2 separate regions of the Homo sapiens genome follow, and region 1 is linked to region 2. Evidence: promoter capture Hi-C in human tissues and cell types (Jung and others, 2019). All regions are on one chromosome and are shown on one strand. The core of a region is centred on a gene start or on the middle of the fragment in contact, and the rest is flanking DNA. Distances in the headings are between cores, read along the strand shown.

Region 1 (5,265 bases), core at 1,032-3,531, 240 kb before region 2:
TAATGAAACATTATTTTAAAAAACAAAAAGTCTTAAGCCAAACACCTCGTATTTACATACAGTATGCTCTTAAATTCTTAACAAAATAGCACAAAACAATTCGACTTGATTAGCCATTAACTTGTTGCCAAGGGATCTCCTAAGAGAGAAAGTGAGTTGTTAATCACAATTCACCTTTGAAGAGCATTTCTATATTTTACAAATAATAAAAACAAGTGTACAAAACATCTTTATGTATATTATTTCATTTAACACATACAGACCGTTTTTTCAGAAAGCCTAATCACCCCTTCATAGGGAAAAAAAAACAAAAAACAGGACCTGTGAATATACCCCCAAACCAACAATCTTGAGTTGCTCCAAACAGATCCACAAATGCTGTCCCTGTCCCATCGCCACAACCCCACAGTTTCCTGAGCCAAAGCCCCTCTGCAGGCCAGTGTTGGAGTGTCAGCCCCTAACAGGTTAGCTCTCACCAAAGCAAAGTTTTTCCATCTGGGTTGCTAGCACATGAGGGCATTTCTGCTCTTACCAGAAGACGATAAAGGTACATCATGAAATTATCACTGCATTACCGAGCTCAACGTCGTTGTCAATATTCAGTGTCTCATTAGAAGGAAACATGGTCCCTTTCTTGTAATGCTGCTTACAGACTTTTAAGCCAATTCTATTGTCTTCATTTTCTCCATAACCAAGGGTCCCCAGGGTAATGTCCTTTAGCTGATGATACTATTAAAAAATAGTCAAGTAAAAACCACATATGACCTTTTATAACTTTGATCAGAGGTTATAGCATATAGAATGTACTTTCAGTTACTTTGTATTGTTTACATCATGGCTCTCAATAGAACTTCCCAATTTAAAATACTACAAAGAAATCTTCTCAGTTTGTTCAGCAAGACACTGCCTCACAGAACTCGAAACAAAACAAGGTGATGGACAGCTCCCACCTCACTCAGCCAAAGCCAAGGTCCTGCCTTATCTCTAGGACCTCATCTACTCCAGTCCCTTGGCTCCAACCTGCAAAGCTGCACTGCCCTCCAGGCAGTTCCTGGAGCTCACACGCATATTTTTGCCTCTGGCCTTTGCTGTTCCCTCTGCCTGGAGACCCACGTACATACCCGCTCGGTTTACTCACTCCTTCAGCTCTCAATTCCGCACCTCAATGAGGCCTTCCCTCCCCAAGCCAAGGAAAATTGCAAACATATATCAAAACATCACATTGTACCCCATAACTATATACTGTGTGCAATTATGCCCTGTCAAATAAAAATAAAATAAATGCAGTAAAAAAGAAAGAAAGAAAGAAAATCACAAACATCCATCACTGCACCCAGGTACTTCCCATCTCCTTCCCTGCTTTACTCCTTAGCAGTTATTACTTTCTAATATCTACTGAGGACATGAGCCATCCACACTCCACAGCTTACATCAATGACTAACATGAACCAACATTAGCTTACCTCAGCTTACATTAACATGGCTTTACTGTTGGCTATCTGCACTAATAGGGCTTTACTAGCTCTGTCTTCATTAATACGACTTTACTATTCCTGAAAATTTTTGCCCTGGACCATAAAATTCCCTCTATTATTTCAGGAACATCCAAAAAATTCATTGAAATAGATAACAATTGGAAGATTTTGTCTGAAAACAACTCCAAGATTCTTTGAAACTGCCTTCCCAATCCTCACCTTGCCATGTCCATCAGTCCTAAATTATTATATCATCATCCTTACCTAATTCTAATCAAGCTCCCCTCACATTAAAGAACTCCCTCCTCACCCAAGGCAAGATGGCCTCTGATCAATATAGCATCTCCCTTACCACTCTAAGTAATAAGCTCAGCTTTGCTCATCAACATGTTTTTTGTGTGGTATTCTCAGGGAGCTAGCATTTGATATTACACATTTCACTTCTTTTTGTCTAGCTCTTCGTTCCAGAATTAAGCTCTATAAAGGAAGGCGCTTTGTCTGTTTTATTCACTGATGCATCCTCAATGACTGGAATAACACCTGCTACATATTAGATACTTCAATATTTATTGAGTGAATGAAAAAGAGCAGGAACAGTTTCTCTTTCCTAAATTATTTCTTCAAGTCTACTAATCTGCTTTCTCATACCTGTCTAGATACAACTATTTTATATTCCATATTCTTAAGATTCAGCTAGGGTTATTAATGCTAAAACATCACAATTAAGGCCACAGAATCCCTGATTTTTTTATTTATTTACTTATTTATTTTGTAGAGATGGGGTTTCACAATGCTGCCCAGACTGGACTCAAAGGATCAACCCACTTTAGCCTCCCAGAGTGCCTGGATTACAGGCATGAGTCACTACGCCAGGCTGGAATCTTTGATTTTATATTAAGCTTTCATCAAGCCTTCTGAGATTAAAAATCTACTCTTGCTATTTGATCTGGGGTAATTTTCCAAAAGCAGTAGGTATGAAGTGATAAATTAAAAAGATAAATATTTTTTAAAAAGTCAAAATAGGCAAACTCTTTTGTGTAGAAATGTAGCTTCAGAAATAGCAATAAACATTTTTTGGCAGACTGCAAAACTTACATTAGAATATTTTAACATGTGTATAATTTTTGTTTGTTGGCTAAGACAAGGCCAAGTATCAATACATTGTTAAAGTATAGGTCATTCACAACAAAACACTTGCCTGATTAATAGCAAAAAAGATGCTCTCATAGGCATCCTCTTGAGTATATACACTGCAGCTGTAGTCATCTTCATCTGTACCAGAATATCCTTTCAAAAACAAGTGCTTAAAAGCAACAGTGTTATCTTCTTTGAAAGCAACCACCAGCTGGTTACTTAAACCAAAACGAACAAGCTAAAAAATAAAATAAAATAGAAACACATGAATTACACCATTTATCAGGGGAGGCAAATGTCTTCTCACTATCATCAACCATTACCTATAAACATCAGAAAATAATATCAATTTTTTTTGGTTTATACTAATAGCATCAATGTCAAAATACAAGTCCCACAGAAGAATAACCTCATCAAGCTACATCAGCAATTCAAAGTAGCATAAAATTAGAAGAGATTACTGCTCCCAATGACTACTGACTCTACTGGCCTTTAAGAAAGAAAGAAAGAATCCAAATCAGCTAAGTCTCAATCCATTTTTCTTATATTTGGATTTCAAGTTAATTGTTTTCAAAATCAATTACTTAGTAAAGCAGTAACTCATTGTATTGATTTAAGATTTAGAAATTGTAGTATTTTTTAAAATCACAACTATGTTTTACATATGGCTTTTAAAAGTGTTTTTTGAAAAGTAGCCTACATAAAAACTTACTCCAGCTAGGAGGTAATAGTTGTCAAAAGAATTCAATTAATTCAGCTCTGCAAGAATTCTGTATAAAATTTACACCTGAGAGTTTCCCTCACCAAATTCTACAGTATCAAAGCACATGAAAGAATAACAGAGCATGCTTTACTTGTATGATGTCAAACCCATTCATTGTCACCAAGCATCCACCTACTGAAAAAATGCCCACTTATTCTCCCTTTCACTGTATTCTGGCAGAATTTAGGCACCCAAGGGCTCTCTTCACCAGAAGTGAAAGTTTTCTTCTTGGAACCCAATAAATGGAGGAAATTAGTCAGCACCAAAAGTTTACACAAAACCTAGGAAACTACACACACAGCTACACACATACCTCATCACACACGCACTCTCACACGCACATTCACACTCTCTCACGTGCGTCCTCTCTGTCTCTCTCACATACATACACAGGCAGTGACGGTAGTCAAATCTCTATAAGCCCTGTCCCACACACCTTTCCCCACCTCCCTAAGTGATTTCTTCAGCTGCCTTATAAAACAATGAGACTAGAAAGTTTGCTCCAAGTCCTCACTCAACTAAGCCACCAAATTTTGGGACTGTTTTCTTCCTATGTAAAATTAGCAAGTGTAACTAGATGACCCTGACAGTTCTGTTATTTGTTGTCATTCCATGGTTCAATATGATACATCTGAACAATAATATACAAGATACAATTCTGAACAATTCAGATAAAACTAATGTTAATTTAGCTGGGTGAGGTGGCCTGTGGCTGTAGTCCCAGCTGCTTGGGAGGCCGAGGTGGGAGGATCACTTAAGCCCAGGAGTTCAAGGCTAGCCTTGGCAATATAGCAAAACCTGTCTCTAAAAAAATAAAGTAAAATAGCTAATATTAATTTGCATATGCAAACAACATACAGGCATACGGTTTTTTCATGGTTTACATTTTTTAGCTTTTATATTTTGTTGTTTTAAAAAATACTAAAGAATTAGGAAAAATAATCACCATTTTCAGCAATTATTATATGCCAGGTACTGTGCTAACTGCTTTACATGCAGTGCCTCATTTACCCCAAGCGGACTATGAAAATGTTACTACTGTTATTCCATTTTACATACGTGCAACCTGAGATTTAGCCTCATTAAATTGCCCAAGTCACCAGAATGGAAGCCAAGTCTAATTCCAAAGTCATCTGTGTTATGCTATAAAAACAACTTCCTTCTGCTGAAAAAGTTCTTTAGGATGCTTCTTATAATGAACTTAAGTGCTAGCTTTTCAAAATTAGGAAAGGCAACTATCGCTTGAGAAGGTACACAGATGCTACTGTTCAGCATTTGAGTCTCACCATGTCACATTCCTCAAATGCCATGTCAAAGGATTGTGCAACTGCTAAAACTCAGCTATTCTAAGGAAAACATCAGATAAGAAGTCCCACATCATCCAGCTTGTGCTGAAAATTAAGCAACAGAAGGTTATAAGTTCTTCTAAGCATGTGATGTCTGTCAATGGTGCCTGTAGGAGAAGCCAGAAAAGGTCATGTTGCTCTTGAAAGCTAAAATGTAAACCAGGGAAGCAACACATACATGATTGCTTCAAAGTTTTATTAAAACTACTGACACATATGAAAAAACTGGTACACACACCACACATGAATGAAGTTCTTCAATCAAAGTTTGCTGAGTGCTTACTCTAAGCCAAGCTGGTATACAACGTGGAAAAGAACACTGCATGGTACGGAATAACAACTCTTATCTGTTGAGAACCAGGCATTGTGCTAAAATTTATAATTATTATTTCTCATTTAATTCTCAACACCCTATTATTACACTGGGCTCTGCAAGGACAGGAATGTTTTTCCTTTTTCCCTGCTATTATATACTCAGGAAATGAAATAATGCCCATCACAATGTCAAACACTGAATCAGCTGATGAATATAATCCCATTTGATACA
Region 2 (5,766 bases), core at 2,914-5,413:
TTAAGATGGTTAAAGATCATACCAAACTAATTAATACTACCTTAAAATAATTGTCTAAAAATTTTAGACAAAATACTAAGTTATACAGTCTAAAGTTTTTTCTTTCCCAGACCATGTAGCAGGAAAAGTGGAGTCAAAGTAGGCTAATTATTTTTTAAAGCAATAAAAGGTGCTTTTGAATTTGTTTCTGAAAACTATATGCTAATTAAAACTTATTTATAAAGATTTATAATGATGTATAGTTGGCAAACACATTAAGATTCCTTTGTAATCTTAAGGCTTGCAGAAACTTGACAATTTTTATTATGTGTAATGACTTTAGATTTCTGAAATAATCATCTCAATTAGGAACAATTCGGCCAATCTGCGAACACTACATACTTAACTGCATCAAATCATTTGTCATTATAATACTATCAAAAGTTCTTAGTAGGAGCCAGAAATCAAAATAGAAAATCATTTGTGTTTCCATTTGTCATATAGTCTCAAAAATTTTCACAATACCTATATGAAGTATCTCCATTCCACTGAATAATTATTCTGTATTACAAATTCTAAATGTAATTTTGACAAAATATCTTATGAATAATACTGTACAGAAAAATGTGCTATAAACCTTTTAGGATATTTAACATCTTTACATAAACAAGAATGTACTGGTTCATCTAGACCGCTCCAAATAAGTTTTGCAGAAAACATGATTTAAAAGTAGAAGTCAAGTGACATCAATTTCAAGTAAGTAAATATTTAAAGGTAAAAGTTTAAAATGAATACAGCAAATGCTTTTTTAAATTTTATTTATTTATTTATTTATTTTTTTGAGACGGAGTCTCACTCTGTCTCCCAGGCTAGAGTGCAGTGACACGATCTTGGCTCACTGCAAGCTCCGCCTCCCAGGTTCACGCCATTCTCCTGCCTCAGCCTCCCGAGTAGCTGGGACTACAGGCACCCACCACCACGCCCGGCTAATTTTTTGTATTCTTAGTAGAGACGGGGTTTCACAGTATTAGCCAGGATGGTCTCGATCTCCTGACCTCGTGATCCGCCCGCCTCGGCCTCCCAAAGTGCTGGGATTACAGGCATGAGCCACTGCGCCCGGCCCAGCAATTACTTTTTAAAATGTCTTTAAACCCGGCCTAAGATTCTCCCATCTTCTTTGCAACTTTGAGGAAGTTACTTACCCCGCTATGCCTTGTTGAAATTCACCCATATCCTCAATCCAAGCAATTTAATAGAATTAATTGGATCAGACCTTTAAAGAACTCTAGAGTCTCTGATCTTATGTAAACAGGGGCTTTTTTCAAACTCATGACGCCTTGGGTTTGAATCCACATAGTAGTTTGAATCCATACACAGGTACCAACTGAGTGATCTTGGGCAAACTGCTTAATCCCTCTGTTCTTTTTCTTGTAGCTGTTGTTAAATGACAGCATATCTCCATTTTGGGGGCTATAAAAATTGTATGAGAACCACCTAATGTATCCAGAATGGACTTAGTAAGACCAACTAAACTTCATGAAAAATAATTTTTTTAAAAAGCTCTCCAAATCTATACTAGATATGTAAACACTGCACAAATTATTTTCATCTCTCCTGAAAAATGAATTAGTGGTTTAAAAGGAAGTAACATCTGAGAGTTGTTTAAACCAGAGATTATGGTAGCTTTGGCTTAGATTTCTCATAAAATATCTAAAATATTATCACATAATAATTGTTTCATTTTAATTTCTAAGTTAGCAGTTTCATTTAATTAGTTGCTTAATGCAAAAATCAAATTCATTCTTAAAGGAACTATATTTATTACTTTAAAAATCCTTGAATGTTTACTACTGAGGGCATTAAAAGCCATCACATGGTAAGTGTTTTAGCTCTGTGACAAAAGGGTGAAAAATATTTGACTATTTTTTGTTATGGCTGAAATTCAACTATGGTACCAAGAGTTAAAACTAAGCCAAAGGGGGGGAGGTAAAAATATTGTGGCAATAAAATATAATAAATGATTACAAATTACTCCTGGAAATGCATGTTTAATATGAACTTAGTATAAAGTACACCTCTCAACAAAGAATTTACATTCTATTATCCTTTTGTTCAAGTGAAATGGAATATTTAACCTTGAGAATAAAATTTGACAGGTGTGTATTAGAGCCGTATAGACAGGAAAAAACTTTGCAAGTTGGCACACACTTTGAATGAATCATTTGATTTGTCTTCATTGTTTGATAAGAAGTTTTGTGAACTTTGTTTCTCCCCACTGTTGTGTGTTTATTGGTTAAACAAAGTTAATGTGTATAAATCCAGTCCTGTAGGATTTATAATTACTACCAGAGAAACCGCCAAGTACTGTGAATACCTTTTACATTTCAGGATTTAATGTTTTCCAAATTATTCCTGACTTATAAGTCTTTATGATCACTAAAAATTTTTATATGTAAGAGTATTCAAAAGACCATGTTGTTTTGGCTCACTTTGAAGATATTATACTCCTTTCAGGAAAGATATTTTGATATTTACAACATAATTGACTGGTTTCTAGAATTGATAACCTAAACCTTCAGTGATAGTTAAAAATCATGCACATACAAAATAGGGAGCTTAATCCTATTATAAGGATCAATATACTTTTTAAAAAACTAATTTACTTCTCTTATAAATAGGATTTAAGTTTGCAAATGACTGCTTTAAAAACAAAACTACCTGAGGAACATTTTTCTTTTGATTAAAATGTTAGTGTCCTTGATTTTTCACAATAAAAAGATTACTTTGTTGAGGTTTCTTTGTCGGGGGGAGGCAGGTGGAGAGATGGTGTATGTGAAATACTACCTGACTAAAAAATTCTACTTATGGTAGGGTTTTTTTTGTTTGATTTGTTTGGGTTTTTGGTTGTGTGTATGTATGCATGTGTGTGCGTGCCTGGGAGAGGCAAAAAAAAAAAGTTGTAATGAGTAAAATGACAGTTTATGAAGCCTATAAAATCTACCTTGAATCAAATTCAAATTTACAAACTCCACAAAAGTCTACGGATTTGCCTAGAGCTACAAAGAATAAAAATCAAGACAGTGCCGCCCATCTGTAAACCTACTAAAAGTGTGTTATACTTAACCTTTACTCCTTTAGGTAATACTTAGGGAATAGACACACTGGTTTTTCGAGAAGAAATCACAACCTCAATTCTTCATGCCATTGTCTGATTAAAAAGAAAAAAAAAAGCAAAACGAGTAAATGCATTACATTAAGTAACCCCGAAATTACTTTAAGCTGCCACTTACATGACACTTACTTTCGCCCGGTAACGTACCTGTCGCAAAAACATAACTTTTTCTTGGCTCTTAAGACAGAAGCCCAGTCGGTAAACAGTAAGGCTCGCGGTGCTAGCATTTTCATCGCAAAGTATCCTACCTGTCAGCGTAATTCTTTGGTCTGGAGGCACCGACAGGACACGGTTTTCACGCACTTTCAAAGCGCCCACATTTGGGGAGGCTGCCTGCGTTCCTGTGACTTTGGGAGCCGTCCCACGGGCACGACCCTTCATTCCCAGGGACAGCAGACGCCCTTTGTACATCCACTTCTGCAGCTTCTTGACTGTCACTGCCGGCGGCCTGAGGAAGGAGGGGCCTTCCTGGCGGTCTCCTTTGCCACTGCGTATCACAGAGGACCCCGCTGGATCCCTGAAAGGGCTTCCCGAGGAGCAGCCGTGGTCCTTGCAGCCTGGAGGCTGGAGGCCGGTGGGTGCAGCCGCCCGGGCGCGGTCCCCACTCCAGCCGTCCATCCTGCCTCCACGTGGCGGGGGCTCGTCCCAGTCCCGGTGCGCGCCGCACCTGATCCAGCTGTCGCTCGGCCACCGCTGGAAGGGAGGCGGCTTGGCACCCACCCGGAGGCTCTCGAGGCTTCTGCTGCAGGACGGCCGCATCCGAGGAGTCCGCAGCTGGCCTCCCCGCGGCTCCCTCTGAGGCGACCGGGGCGGGGACACCTGCTGCCGAGGGCGTCCGCCGCCTCCCCGCTCCCCGTCCCGGGGGCAGGCTCGGCGGTACGCGGCGCCGCGGGAAGGCGGCTGGCCCGGAGCCCGGGCTCCCGCGGGGAAGCTGTGATCCGCCAAGCCCCTGCCGCCCCGCCGCGCGCCCGAGTCAGGGGGCAGGTCGTGCATGGCCTGGATCAGCAGATAATAGGCCTCTCGCAACTGGGTCCGCAGCCTGCCTGTCTCCAGGCGGCCGCCCTCCGCCCCCAGGGAGGAGCCCGCCGCTGGGGGAGGCGGGGGACGCCGTTCCGCCTCCGCCCCCTCAGGCTCGGGCGCAGACTGCGAGCCGCCGGGCAGGTTTTCGTAGTAGTCGGCGTCGTAGTCGTCTTCGTCCTTGTCGTCTTCCTCCTCCTCTCCGCTGTCCTCGGAGCCCTCCGGGGAGTGCGGAGGGGCGTGAGCGAGCCCATGGCTCTGGGGGGCGGCCTCCTGCCCGCCGCGCGGCCGAGGCCCGAGCGCCCCCAACTGCTCCGGGTGCCCTCCGGGGACCCGCGCCCCGGGACCCCACGCCTCAGGTGACGGCGAGGGCTGCTGTAGGCTCCGCCCGTGTCCCCCGGCGTGCTCACGTGGGAGGGTGTCTGCGGCACCCCAGGCGTCTCCCGCGGCTGCCGAAGAGGCCGCCACCGCAGCTGCGGCTGCCGCCCGGAGCCCTAGCCCCCCGGTGCCGCGGGGACCCCGCCTTCCCCGGAGCCTGGACAGCGTCCTCCTCAGAGGGTCCGCCATCCCCTCTGCCTTAGCCGCGAGGCTCACCCCCGCCAGGGGGAGAGGTCGGAGCCCCGCTGGGGAGAAAACCGCGCTCGCGGAGGCGGAGGCGGAGGCGGCGGCGGCTCCCCATGACCGGCGCTGGCCCTCGCCGGCTCCTCACATACTTGGCATAACTCTGCCGCGGGAAGGCGTGGGGGAGGGCGGTGGCGCCGCAACGCGCATGCCCCGGAGCCCCGGGCCGCGACGGGGCGCGCGGGCCGGGGGCGGCAGAGGTGGGTTCTCGGGGTGGGCGAGTGGTGCAGGTGGAGGCGGAGGGCGCGGGCCGGTAGGTTGAGTAGTAGGTCGGCTGAAGCTGACCGACGGAAGCAGGGGTGGGCGCACAGAGCGCGAAGGGTGCGGGGAGAGTTGAGGCAGGGGAAAGAAGAACGAGCAGGAACGTGAGTTTGGGCTGGTGGCTGCAAAGTTTTGGTTAGGGAGCCCGAGAAAGGGAAAGTGCCCTCCTGGCTGTCACCCCAGCACCTTCACCGCCACCGCTGCACGAGGTGTGTCTTAGGCACAGCAAGTCCTAGCTTGAGAGAAAACAAAGATTGTTTTGACGGACAAAGTACGAGTGCAGGTGTATCTCGGTGCATGTGTTCTAGAAATGTATCAATCATTTTAATCGCCCAGAGAGCTAGCTAGCTAAAAGAAATTTGCAGCGATTCCTTTTCTATAAGAGTTCTTTTATCAAAAACAAAACAAAACCCACCCACCGATGTCTCTTTTAAGTCTGTTTTTCCTTCTTTATTTCAGTTAATGCATGCTAACAAAATTATTACATCAGCCAAAACTTGTAAAATGGAGCCACAAATATTATGTCCCTCATCACCCTACCTACAAGATTATCATACAGGTTTGCAGCTTTCTAATATAAAAAAGTTAACACTTCATTTTAATTTAAATAGTGAGTTGAGAAGCAATTGAATTGAAGTTGAGACACAGTGTAATCTAGAAATACCGGCTGTCTCCCAAAAACGTTAAATTCCAGGTTCTGGGCAGCAGTTGCAAAC

The links. Contacts are between HindIII fragments. The study calls those that stand out against the background at their distance.
Region 1: a fragment that was not itself captured here is called in contact with the fragment with the promoter of SYDE2 in region 2 in 1 of the 25 tissues and cell types used here (neural progenitor cells).

Annotation. Positions count from the first base shown.
Region 1 is chr1:84,955,856-84,961,120 of GRCh38, forward strand. MCOLN2 (mucolipin TRP cation channel 2) reads right to left here. Exons shown (of 14, transcript NM_153259.4): 3 at 2,674-2,847; 4 at 576-729. Among named protein-coding and RNA genes, the nearest start is that of MCOLN2, 39 kb to the right of the region's middle. The HindIII fragment of the contact is 6,848 bases long and covers 1-5,265 here.
Region 2 is chr1:85,196,853-85,202,618 of GRCh38, forward strand. It overlaps SYDE2 (synapse defective Rho GTPase homolog 2), which reads right to left and starts at 4,164. Exons shown (of 7, transcript NM_032184.2): 1 at 3,400-4,164. The coding sequence starts at 4,144. LOC124904207 (a long non-coding RNA gene) reads right to left here and starts at 3,390. Exons shown (of 2, transcript XR_007066199.1): 1 at 3,299-3,390; 2 at 784-3,187. RefSeq lists an enhancer at 3,279-3,890 and a silencer at 3,903-5,052. The HindIII fragment of the contact is 20,475 bases long and covers 1-5,766 here.